Regions from separate parts of the Homo sapiens genome. Here region 1 is linked to region 2. The links are contacts of gene promoters, found by promoter capture Hi-C in blood cells and fetal thymus (Javierre and others, 2016). All regions are on one chromosome and are shown on one strand. Each heading gives the region's core, a stretch centred on a gene start or on the middle of the fragment in contact. The rest is flanking DNA. Distances are from core to core; before and after follow the strand shown. Region 1 overlaps IL6R (interleukin 6 receptor). Region 2 holds the start of AQP10 (aquaporin 10).

Region 1 (4,844 bases), core at 2,040-4,539, 120 kb before region 2:
TACTGAGATTACAGGTGTGAGCCACCGCGCCCAGCTGTCATTAGGGTTTTTTAAAGGCTCCCCATACTATACTCAAGACAGATGCTTCAGGAAGAAAGTTTCTACTCTCAGTCCTGACCCCCAACACAGCCTGTGGCCCAGAGAATGCCCAGTAACCTCTGGCGGCTCAGGTTTCTGGGGTTAAAGTGGTAATGAACCACAAAGCCACAGGAAGAGGGGAGGAGAGACCGTGGGACCCACAGGCTCAGTGGCGCCAGGCAGCTCCTGCGTGCTGAGCAAGGGGACCCTACTTCACACCTTTCCTCGCAGCCTTTAAACCACCCAACAGACAGCTCATCACTGCTCCTCTATTCGTGTAGAAACAAATAAATAAACCTCACTGAGGAGCCTCCTGAGGAGAAATGACTCACCTCCAGCTGGGTCCCAAATGCCACCCGGGATGGTCTGTGGAGAGAAGCCTAGTGGAGACAAGTACAGAAAAGGCTGTGTGTACAAATCTCCACAGTGTCTGGGTGCCAAAAGCGCCCCTCATTTTGAGGTTTCACCCTTCCTCATTTGGGGGGGGCGGGTGTGGGGGGCAGTTAAGGAGTCTTTTTGTTGTTAAGACAGGGTCTCCCTCTGTTGCCCAGGCTGGAGTGCAGTAGTGCAATCATAGCTCATTGCAGCCTCCAACTGCTGGGCTCAGGTGATCCTTCCACCTCAGCCTCCCACTTAGCTAGGACTACAGGTGTGCACTGCTATGCCCAACTAATTTTTTTTTAACTTTTTTTTGTAAAGACAGGGTCTCCTTATGGTGCCCGGCTGGTCTCTATCTCCTGGGCTCAGGCAATCCTCCCCCATCAGCCTCGTAAAGTGCTGGGATTATAGGCCTGAGCCACCACGCCTGACCAAGCATCCTTTCTTTTATGAAATTATGGTGATGGTAAATGCTAATAGTTATTTATCACTTACTTGTTACATTTTATGTCCTTACTTAGCAAAATTAAAAGCTGGCAACCAGCCGGGCACGGTGGCTCATGCCTGTAATCCCAGCACTTTGGGAGGCCGAGGTGGGTGGATCACCTGAGGTCAAGAGTTAAGACCAGCCTGACCAACATGGAGAAACCCCGTCTCTACTAAAAATACAAAATTAGCCGGGCATGATGGCGCATGCCTGTAATCCCAGCTACTCAGGAGGCTGATGCAGGGGAATTGCTTGAACTCAGGAGGTGGAGGTTGCGGTGAGCTGAGATCACGCCATTGCACTCCAGCCTAGGCAACAAGAGCGAAACTCCGTTTCAAAAAAAAAAAAAAAAAGCTAGCAACTTTAATTGGTCCCCAGAATTGTTTTTGAAATTTTACAGACCCGTGAAATCCCAACGTTTAGGAATCACCCAGTTGTGCACAAGGATGTCAGGCGGATAGGCAATGCGAGGATGAGGGAGGAGGGTCGTGGAGAGGGGCACGAAGAGTGGAGTGCAACAGAATGGCTGACTGCTAGATGCTATTGAGATGTGGCAAGAACCCAAACCAAGGCAGAGACATTTGGTGCGATGTGCAAGCTCCTGGCTGGGTAGCTGGGTGGGTGGGGTGTCCCCTGGACAAGCAGGGCAGGGAGATCTGTGAGGGGTGTGATATGTTTGGTTTGGGTCATGCGGAGCACCTGGCACAGGAGGGAGGATCTGGCCAGAAGTCTGGGCCAAGTTGAAGACATGAATCCAAAGCTCGAGAGACAGGCTTGGCAGGAGATACGGGTGAAAGGCAGTCATGCTGGCATTTATTGCACCCTTGTCATGTGCCAGGCTCTGTGCTAATTGCTTCTCACCTCACTGAAGCCTCACAACCCAGCAAGGCTGGGGTTTGGGTTTTTTGAGGCAGGCATTATTATTCCCATTTGACAAATAAGCAAACTGAGTCTCAGTGAGGTACTTCCCCAGGGTCGTGCTAGTCAAGGGCAAGGGCAGCAACTAGACCCAATGCTGCCTGACTCCAGAGCCAGTGCTCTGCACAAAGTGGCAGGTGATGCAGTGGAAGTGGGCGGGGCCCCAGTGGAATGTTCCAGAAAGCTGCAGAAAACAGGGCAGAGAGGGAATTCAGGGATGCCATATGGATAAGTGAACAGGGCAAAATCTCTCCGGAAATGTGTAACCAAGGCTCTTTAACCCCAGAATGTCCCACTTGGGAGTGCTGCAGAGAGGAACAAAACAAACTCCTCCAGAATGGATGGCCAAAGAGTTTGAGAAGATAACGTGTAGCTGGAGGCACTGACCGCCCAGTCCTGGCTTCAGGGCACCCCCTCATGTGCAAATGCAAACCTTTGGTATCACCTCCTCCAACAGGTGTGATTCCCATTCTTGGGGAATAGGAGAGGGAGTTAAAGGGATTATTTGTGAGAAGCAAGGAATAACCCCCTTATACCTAATGGGCTTTTCCCAGGCATTTTGCCCCACGCCCTCTTTGAAAAGGGGCTCCAGCCTGGCACAGTGGCTCATGGCTATAAATCCCAGAGCTTTGGGAGGCTGAGGCAGGAGGATCACTCAAGGCCTGTGCAACATAGGGTGACCTCATCTCTGTAAAATATTTTTTAAAAAATTAGCTGGGCATCGTGATGCATGCCTATAGTCCTAGCTACTCAGAGGCTGAGGCAGGAGTTCAAGGCTGGAGTGAGCTATGATTATGCCACTGCACTCCGGCTTGGGCAACAGAATGAGATACCATCTCTGAAAAAAAAAAAAAAGAAGAAAATGATTTTGTGATTCCCCCAGACTCAATGTTGATGTGACAGGGAGAACTCCCATCAGGAGAGGATAAATTCAGAACTCCCGCTTGAGAGAAAGCTGCCGACCGTGCTGGCCTTGCTGGCCAAAGCAGGGCTAAGACAGAGTGACCCTGGGACCCCCAACTTCATACAAAAGGCTATCCTGGGCTACAGTCTGTGCGGGGGGCCAGGCCCCAGCCTCAAGGGGGCAGCACCTGCTGAAGTCCAGGCTCCAGAGCCCCACTCTATGGCATTCCACTTCCACTCCTACAGGGGCCCACCAAGGCCGGCCTCCACCTGTCCCACTCAGACCACCCACCCACACACGTGTCGGCCTCACCAAGCAGCTCTCTGCCACCCTCCCCTTGCTCACAGCTCCGTGCCTTTGTACTCTGCCTACAATCCCCATTTTCTGTCTGGGACCCTCCTACACATCCTTCAAGACATAATTCAATTGTCACCTCCTCCATGAAGCTTTTCCTGCTATCTCTAAACTGCCCCAACAGAACAGTCTGCTTACGGCCTTATCGTGCTGTGAACACCATCTATTACGTATTAGACATACTACAGTGGGGCACGCACCCTCCTCCAGCCCCCTCAAGCACATACTAAAACCACCAGGAAAGCTTTCTCAAACCACCCACTCTACTTCCTCCTCCAGATTCCAATGCAGTGAGTTCACGATGGCATCCAGGATAGTGATTCTGGGATGCCCCTGGTCCCACTCTCCTCCCAAGAACCAGCACTGTCCTGTAATTGCTGATCCCCTTACAAATGCAGTATGCTTTAGCATTTCTAAAGAATATTTTTTCATCAGACTCACAAAAACTCTCTGAAAGGAACAAGATTGGTGCTATCATCTCTACTTTACCGATGACAAGACTGAGGCTCTGAGAGCTGAACTAACTTTACCAGTGTCATACAACCTGACTCCCAGGTGCTTCCCAGGACCTCTGTGTCTCCCAAAGGCCACCACTCCCACACCTAGTCTGGGAGGCAGGTGCATCCTGTCTGTCTGGGCCTTGAGAGCTGAAGGTCCTTGGGGTGGGTAAGCTCACCCCACACGGTGATACAGTGTTTAGTACACTGATGCGTCCCTAACAGCCAAATAACCGTGGTCCATAACACACACCTCACCTAGTGCTCTAACCTTCCCCTTATTTTTCAGAACTGCCCGCCAATTTCCAACCTGAATCCCCCTCTTGCGTCAAAATCATCCAAGTTCCTCTTGCTCTTCCCTCAGCAGAGAGGGGAGCAGCAGGTTTCTTTCTTGGATATATTCACAACTGGGTTTTGAAGACTTCCCCTGCCTCAAACCACACATGCATAGGGTGGAGGGCTCAAAGTCTTCCGCTCCTTACATGAGAAGAAACCGACTGTTCTATCTGAGCTCCCACAGAAGCTGTGTCTATGCCAAAGAAGCACATCCACCTGAGGCTGGAAAGTGGAGACCGTACCCAGTGCTGGCCAGACAGCCCCCACCACACCATCTTCCAATAGAAGGAGAGTGTCAGCAACTTAAAGAGGGACATCCACAAATGAGACCAGATTCAGGGGAAGGGGGCCAGAAAGGTGAAGAATTCACAGACCATCTCATGTAACAGCCTGGGAAGAGGAGCCCAAGCAGATGCAGGTCTGGGAACTCCAAAAGAATTCAGAGAGAGCAGACTAGGAAATTTGTCATTGGTTATCCCTGAGAACAGAGCAAGGGCCAGTGAGGCCAGAGTTAGGTTCACATAAGAAAGAACTTTCTATTTGAATAGATATTTCTCCAAAGATATATGAATGGCCAAGAAGCACATGAAAAGATCCTCAGCCTGGGTGTGGTGGCTCACGCCTGTAATCCCAGTACTTTGGGAGGCATAGATGGGCAGATCACTTGAGGTCAGGAGTTCAAGAGCAGCCTCGCCAACATGGCAAAGCCCCGTCTCTGCTAAAAATACAAAAATTAGCTGGGTGTGGTGGTGCATGCCAATCTCAACTACTCGGGAGGCTGAGGCACGAGAATCACTTGAACCCCAGGAGGTGGAGGTTACAGTGAGCCAAGATCGCCCCACTGCACTCCAGACTGGGTGACAGGGTGAGACTCTGTCTCAAAAAAAAAAAA
Region 2 (4,527 bases), core at 1,479-3,978:
AGTCTGTCTCCCACCTGAAGACTTCAGGACCCCAGCCAGCCACGTAGGTGAAGAGACGTGGGCCCAGGTCCCGGGCAGGGTTGAGTGGAATCCCGCAGTTGGCACCCATGGATAACCCGAGGGCCAGGATCAGCATCCCCACCACCACAGGCTCCAGACCCGCAGGGACTCCCTTGTTCCGTCTGTCCAGGATGGCCAAGAGCCCCACAATCAGCATCCCAGTGCCCAGAACCTTGGAGTCAACAGAGGCAGAGGGTTCCCTGTCAGCTGCCAGGTGCTCCATCTGCCCTCTCTCATCCAAATATTCCATGTCATCTGGCTTTGTGCAACACAGGCAGTTGGGGATGGTGGGGAGTGCCAAGATAGACCCAACCCACACTCCACCCAGAGACTGAACAATAGGCTGGGGTGCCGAGGAACAGGACCAAAGTAGTGTCCCCAGGTCTCCCCCTCACACTTACCTGATCCAGGAAGCCATTGTTCAGGGACAGATAGGGGGCAGGATAGGTGGCAAAAATGGAGGCTGTCTCCTTGGGGCCAGTCACTGTCAGGTTCCCACCTGTATAGTTCTGTAGGGCATCTGTGGAGGAAGGGAACACCCAGGATTTCCCTCTTTGCTCATTCATCCAAAACCATTCTGAGGCACCCCTGCCCACCCACAGGTGCTCTCAAGGCACAGCTCCCTCTGTTCCCTCTGTCACCATGGTAGAGAACATAGGTGGCTCCCGAAGCACAGAAAGCAGACAGCAACTGCACCAAGATGTAAATGGGGAGCTTGACCCAGGGGAGGCGTCCAACGATGCACATGGCCAGGGAGAAGGCTGGATTCAGGTGGGCCCCTTCAAGTATCAAGGAAAGAAAAAGAGCATCTATTAAGTGTCACTGCCAGGCATTGTCACCAGACAACACTACTGCTCCTTCCTATAGCTCTTAAGGCAGATAGTGTAATTCTCATCACACAGCTTAGGAAATTGAGGCTCCAGATGTTACAGATGTTAAGTGACTTAGCAAAGTCACACTGTGGGCCAGGCACAGTGGCTCACGCCTGTAATCCCAGCACTTTGGGAGGCCGAGGCAGTGGATCACTTGAGGTCAGGAATTCCAGACCAGCCTGGCCAACATGGTGAAACCCCGTTTCCACTAAAAACACAAATATTAGCCAGGCGTGGTAGCAGGTGCCTGTAAAATCAGCTATTCGGGATGCTGAGGCAGGAGAATCGCGTGAACCCAGGGGCAGAGGTTGCAGTGAACAGACATCACACCACTGCTCTCCAGCCTGGGCAACAGAGTGAAACTCCATCTCAAAAAAAAAGAAAAAAAAAAAAAAAAAAGAAGAAGACACTGTGAATCCAAAGTTGGAACCTAGGTCTGTCTGCTTTTTCCACAGCAACACACTATGTCTCAAGGCTCCACCCAAGCACACCGATGCAGTGTGTATCTGGGGTACAAACAGGAGAGGTCCTGAGTGGAGATGAGCCCCCAGAGGACTTCAGGTGGGGGATACAAGAGGATAGCAGCTGCCCTTCGTGCCCTGCCATTGATTTCTGTCTAGGTGAGCCAAGCATTAGTGTGAGGAAGCAGGATGGAGAGATACAGAAAGAGGAGGGGCTGGTGGGGCCAAAGGCTTATTTCAGTCTGGGACACTGTTCAAGGGGATAATGTCCACGAGTCACAGAAGGATTTGCGTTTCCACCATCACCAGACAGACAAACTGGCATGCACATCCCACGTGCTCTGATGACCAGACCCCACCCTCCTCACCTGAGACGTTACCACCCACGTAGATGGCTATCGTAACGGCCAGAGAGCCAGCCAGAAACATGGTGAAGAAGTTGCCTTTGGTTTCTCCACTGGTGACAGCCTGGGCCACAGCTCCTTGGGTGAGGAGCTGCTGAGAAGAGGAGAGATGAGGAACAGGGAGCCCAGGAGACCAACAGGGAGAAAGGTTGGGAAGGCCAGGGGAGCAGCCAAGGAGATGAATGAGCACAGAAGACAAGCAAGGGAAGGAGAAAAGCAGAAGGAGGGAAGGGAAAAGAAATGGGGAAAGTGGAGGAAGAAGAAAGGGAAAGAATGTGGGAAAAAAGAAAAGAATTTACCCAACTCATAGGCATTTGAGGGTACAAACCCATGGCAGGGCTCAGCTTTAAAAAGTCTTATCTAAGATTCTTTCTATGGAAGAGTTCCATCAAAGCCAATTTTAAAAGCCTATGTGAAAAATAATTATTCTTGCTGCACTTTATACAATCATCAGGCCAAGTATAATAAAGCACATTGGTCTTACCATGAAAATGGTCTTTCATAAAAATGGGAAACTGAAGAGAGAAAAATTATGTTTCAAGAACTATGATACACTTGTTATTAAAGAAAGAATAAAAATGACAAGAATAAAAATGATGAAGTAGGAGAGGAAAGGAGATTAGGAGAGACGAGAGGATAAAAACGAAAAGTGATAGGGAGTTGAGAGGAAGGGGGACACCAAGAGAAAGAGATAAGGACAACAGAAGGAGCCAGGAACTTTTGCCCAACCCCCTTCTTTCCTTCCCGCAGTGATCCTACCTACCATGAGTACAAACACACCCAGAAACTCTGCCAGGCACTGCCGGGCCAGGAGGCTGCGTATCCGGAGGTGGCCCATGATTTCAGCCGGGGCCTGAGTGAAGACCATGGTGGAAACACCCTATTGCTATTCACTGCTCCCTCTGTCTGCATAGGCACACTGTCACTGCACAGCTACTGCCTGCCTCCAGCAAAGATAAGGAACAGACTTTAAAACCATTAGCTCAGTTCCTGAACAGCAGCTACGTGTCTGTGCACGTGTGTAGGCTAGGAAACAGAGAGATAACAAGAGAATGTCTGGGAGCAGGCTATGAACACAGAGCCTGGAGTTTACCCAACCTCTGTCTCTTTTACCCTTCATTCCCAGTCATCACAGGACTAGCCTCCCCCATCCTGACAAATAGAAGGAAGTACCCCGCTTCATAGACATTAGATCTCTTGGTCCTGAAGTCAGCTCTGCAAAGTAGTACTATTGCTTCCATTCTACAGATGAGGCTAGTGGGCCTTAGAACTCCCCAAGATCAAACTTTTTTTTTTTTTTTTTCTGAGAGAGAGTCTTGCTCTGTCCCCCAGGCTGGAGTGCAGTGGCACCATCTCAGCTTACTGCAACCTCCACCTCCCAGGTTCAAGCAATTCTCCTGCCTCAGCCTCCCAAGTAGATGGGACTACAGGTCCATCACACCTGGCTAATTTTGATATTTTTTAGTAAAGACTTGGTTTCTCGGGAGGCCGAGGCAGGCAGATCACGAGGTCAGGAGATCAAGACTATCCTGGCCAACATGGTGAAACTCCATCTCTACTAAAATACAAAAAAATTAGCGTGGTGGTGCACGCCTGTAGTCCCAGCTACTCGGGAGGCTGAGGCAGGGGAATCACTTGAACCAGGGAGGCGGAGGTTGCAGTGAGCCGAGATTGTGCCACTGCACTCCAGCCTGGCAACAGAGCGAGACTTTGTCTCAAAAAAAAAAAAAAAAAAAAAGACGGGGTTTCACCATGTTGGCCAGGCTGGTCTCAAACTCCTGACCTCTAGTGATTCACCTTCCTTGGCCTCCCAAAGTGCTGGGATTACAAGCGTGAGCCACCGTGCCCGGCCCAAGATCACACAATTATTTCATGGCTGAGTGAATTCAAATCCAGATTTTCTGACTCTCCAGCTGGTAACCCACAAAGCCTCTCATTTAGAACCTGAAGCCTTACCCCAAACCATTTGGATGCTTGAAGAACTCAATAGGCATCTGGAAAGACTGGGCTAAAGACCACAGACTGTGGGAATGAAACTCACATATTGAGTGCTTGTACTTCCCTTATGCCGAGTGTCACATAGGTTAGAGAATACTCCATCTTTGTGTCCCCTGACATGGCTTGACATGAGGCCTTCACACTCATGCTGAGCTCCACCTGGCCTTCTCTGGGTGCATGCCACTCTTGCTCTGCATGAAGTAACCGCATCCTACTTCTTCATATCTCAAGGCTCCAATTAAATGCATTCAAAGAATCTACGTCTAGACACTGGAGAAACAGTGGTGAACAAAACATAGTCTCTGCCCTCCTAGAGCTTATGTTCTAGTAGGTGGAAACAGACAATATGCAACTTTTTAAAATACCATATACAGTTTATGAAGTTCTTGAGGGCTACCATTATGATTTATGTAACCCTGTGGGCTCTACCACTGTCCTGGGCACATCTGTGTGACTAGTAAAGAAATAATATTTCTTTACTAGGTTTAATGGATACTATAGTGCTCCACCCAGATTCCCCCTTGGGAGCCAATATGCCCATTCGCTACATGTAGGAAATACCAGCTGCTGATACCACATAGCTACCTCCCTCATTGGGCAATGCCCTTCAAGTCAGAAAGATGCCTCACCGAAGGTTACATGCCCTCCTATGGGGCCCATGTCAAACACTGATTGATGGAGGGATATAAAAGTCTAGCCTCTTTGCCTCACTTTGCGACAACTCTAAAGGGC

The links. Contacts are between HindIII fragments. The CHiCAGO score rates a contact against its expected background, and 5 or more counts as called.
Region 1: a contact is called between a fragment that was not itself captured here and the fragment with the promoter of AQP10 in region 2, in 2 of 17 cell types (activated CD4 T cells and non-activated CD4 T cells). The highest score is 6.2, in activated CD4 T cells.

Annotation. Positions count from the first base shown.
Region 1 is chr1:154,440,661-154,445,504 of GRCh38, reverse strand. The region is part of intron 6 of IL6R (interleukin 6 receptor); the gene reads right to left. Among named protein-coding and RNA genes, the nearest start is that of IL6R-AS1, 37 kb to the right of the region's middle. RefSeq lists an enhancer at 1-220 and a silencer at 2,870-2,969. The HindIII fragment of the contact is 152 bases long and covers 3,214-3,365 here.
Region 2 is chr1:154,319,294-154,323,820 of GRCh38, reverse strand. It overlaps AQP10 (aquaporin 10), which reads right to left and starts at 2,728. Exons shown (of 6, transcript NM_080429.3): 1 at 2,561-2,728; 2 at 1,762-1,888; 3 at 702-839; 4 at 462-580; 5 at 15-232. The coding sequence starts at 2,665. RefSeq lists a silencer at 2,758-2,949. The HindIII fragment of the contact is 12,155 bases long and covers 1-4,527 here.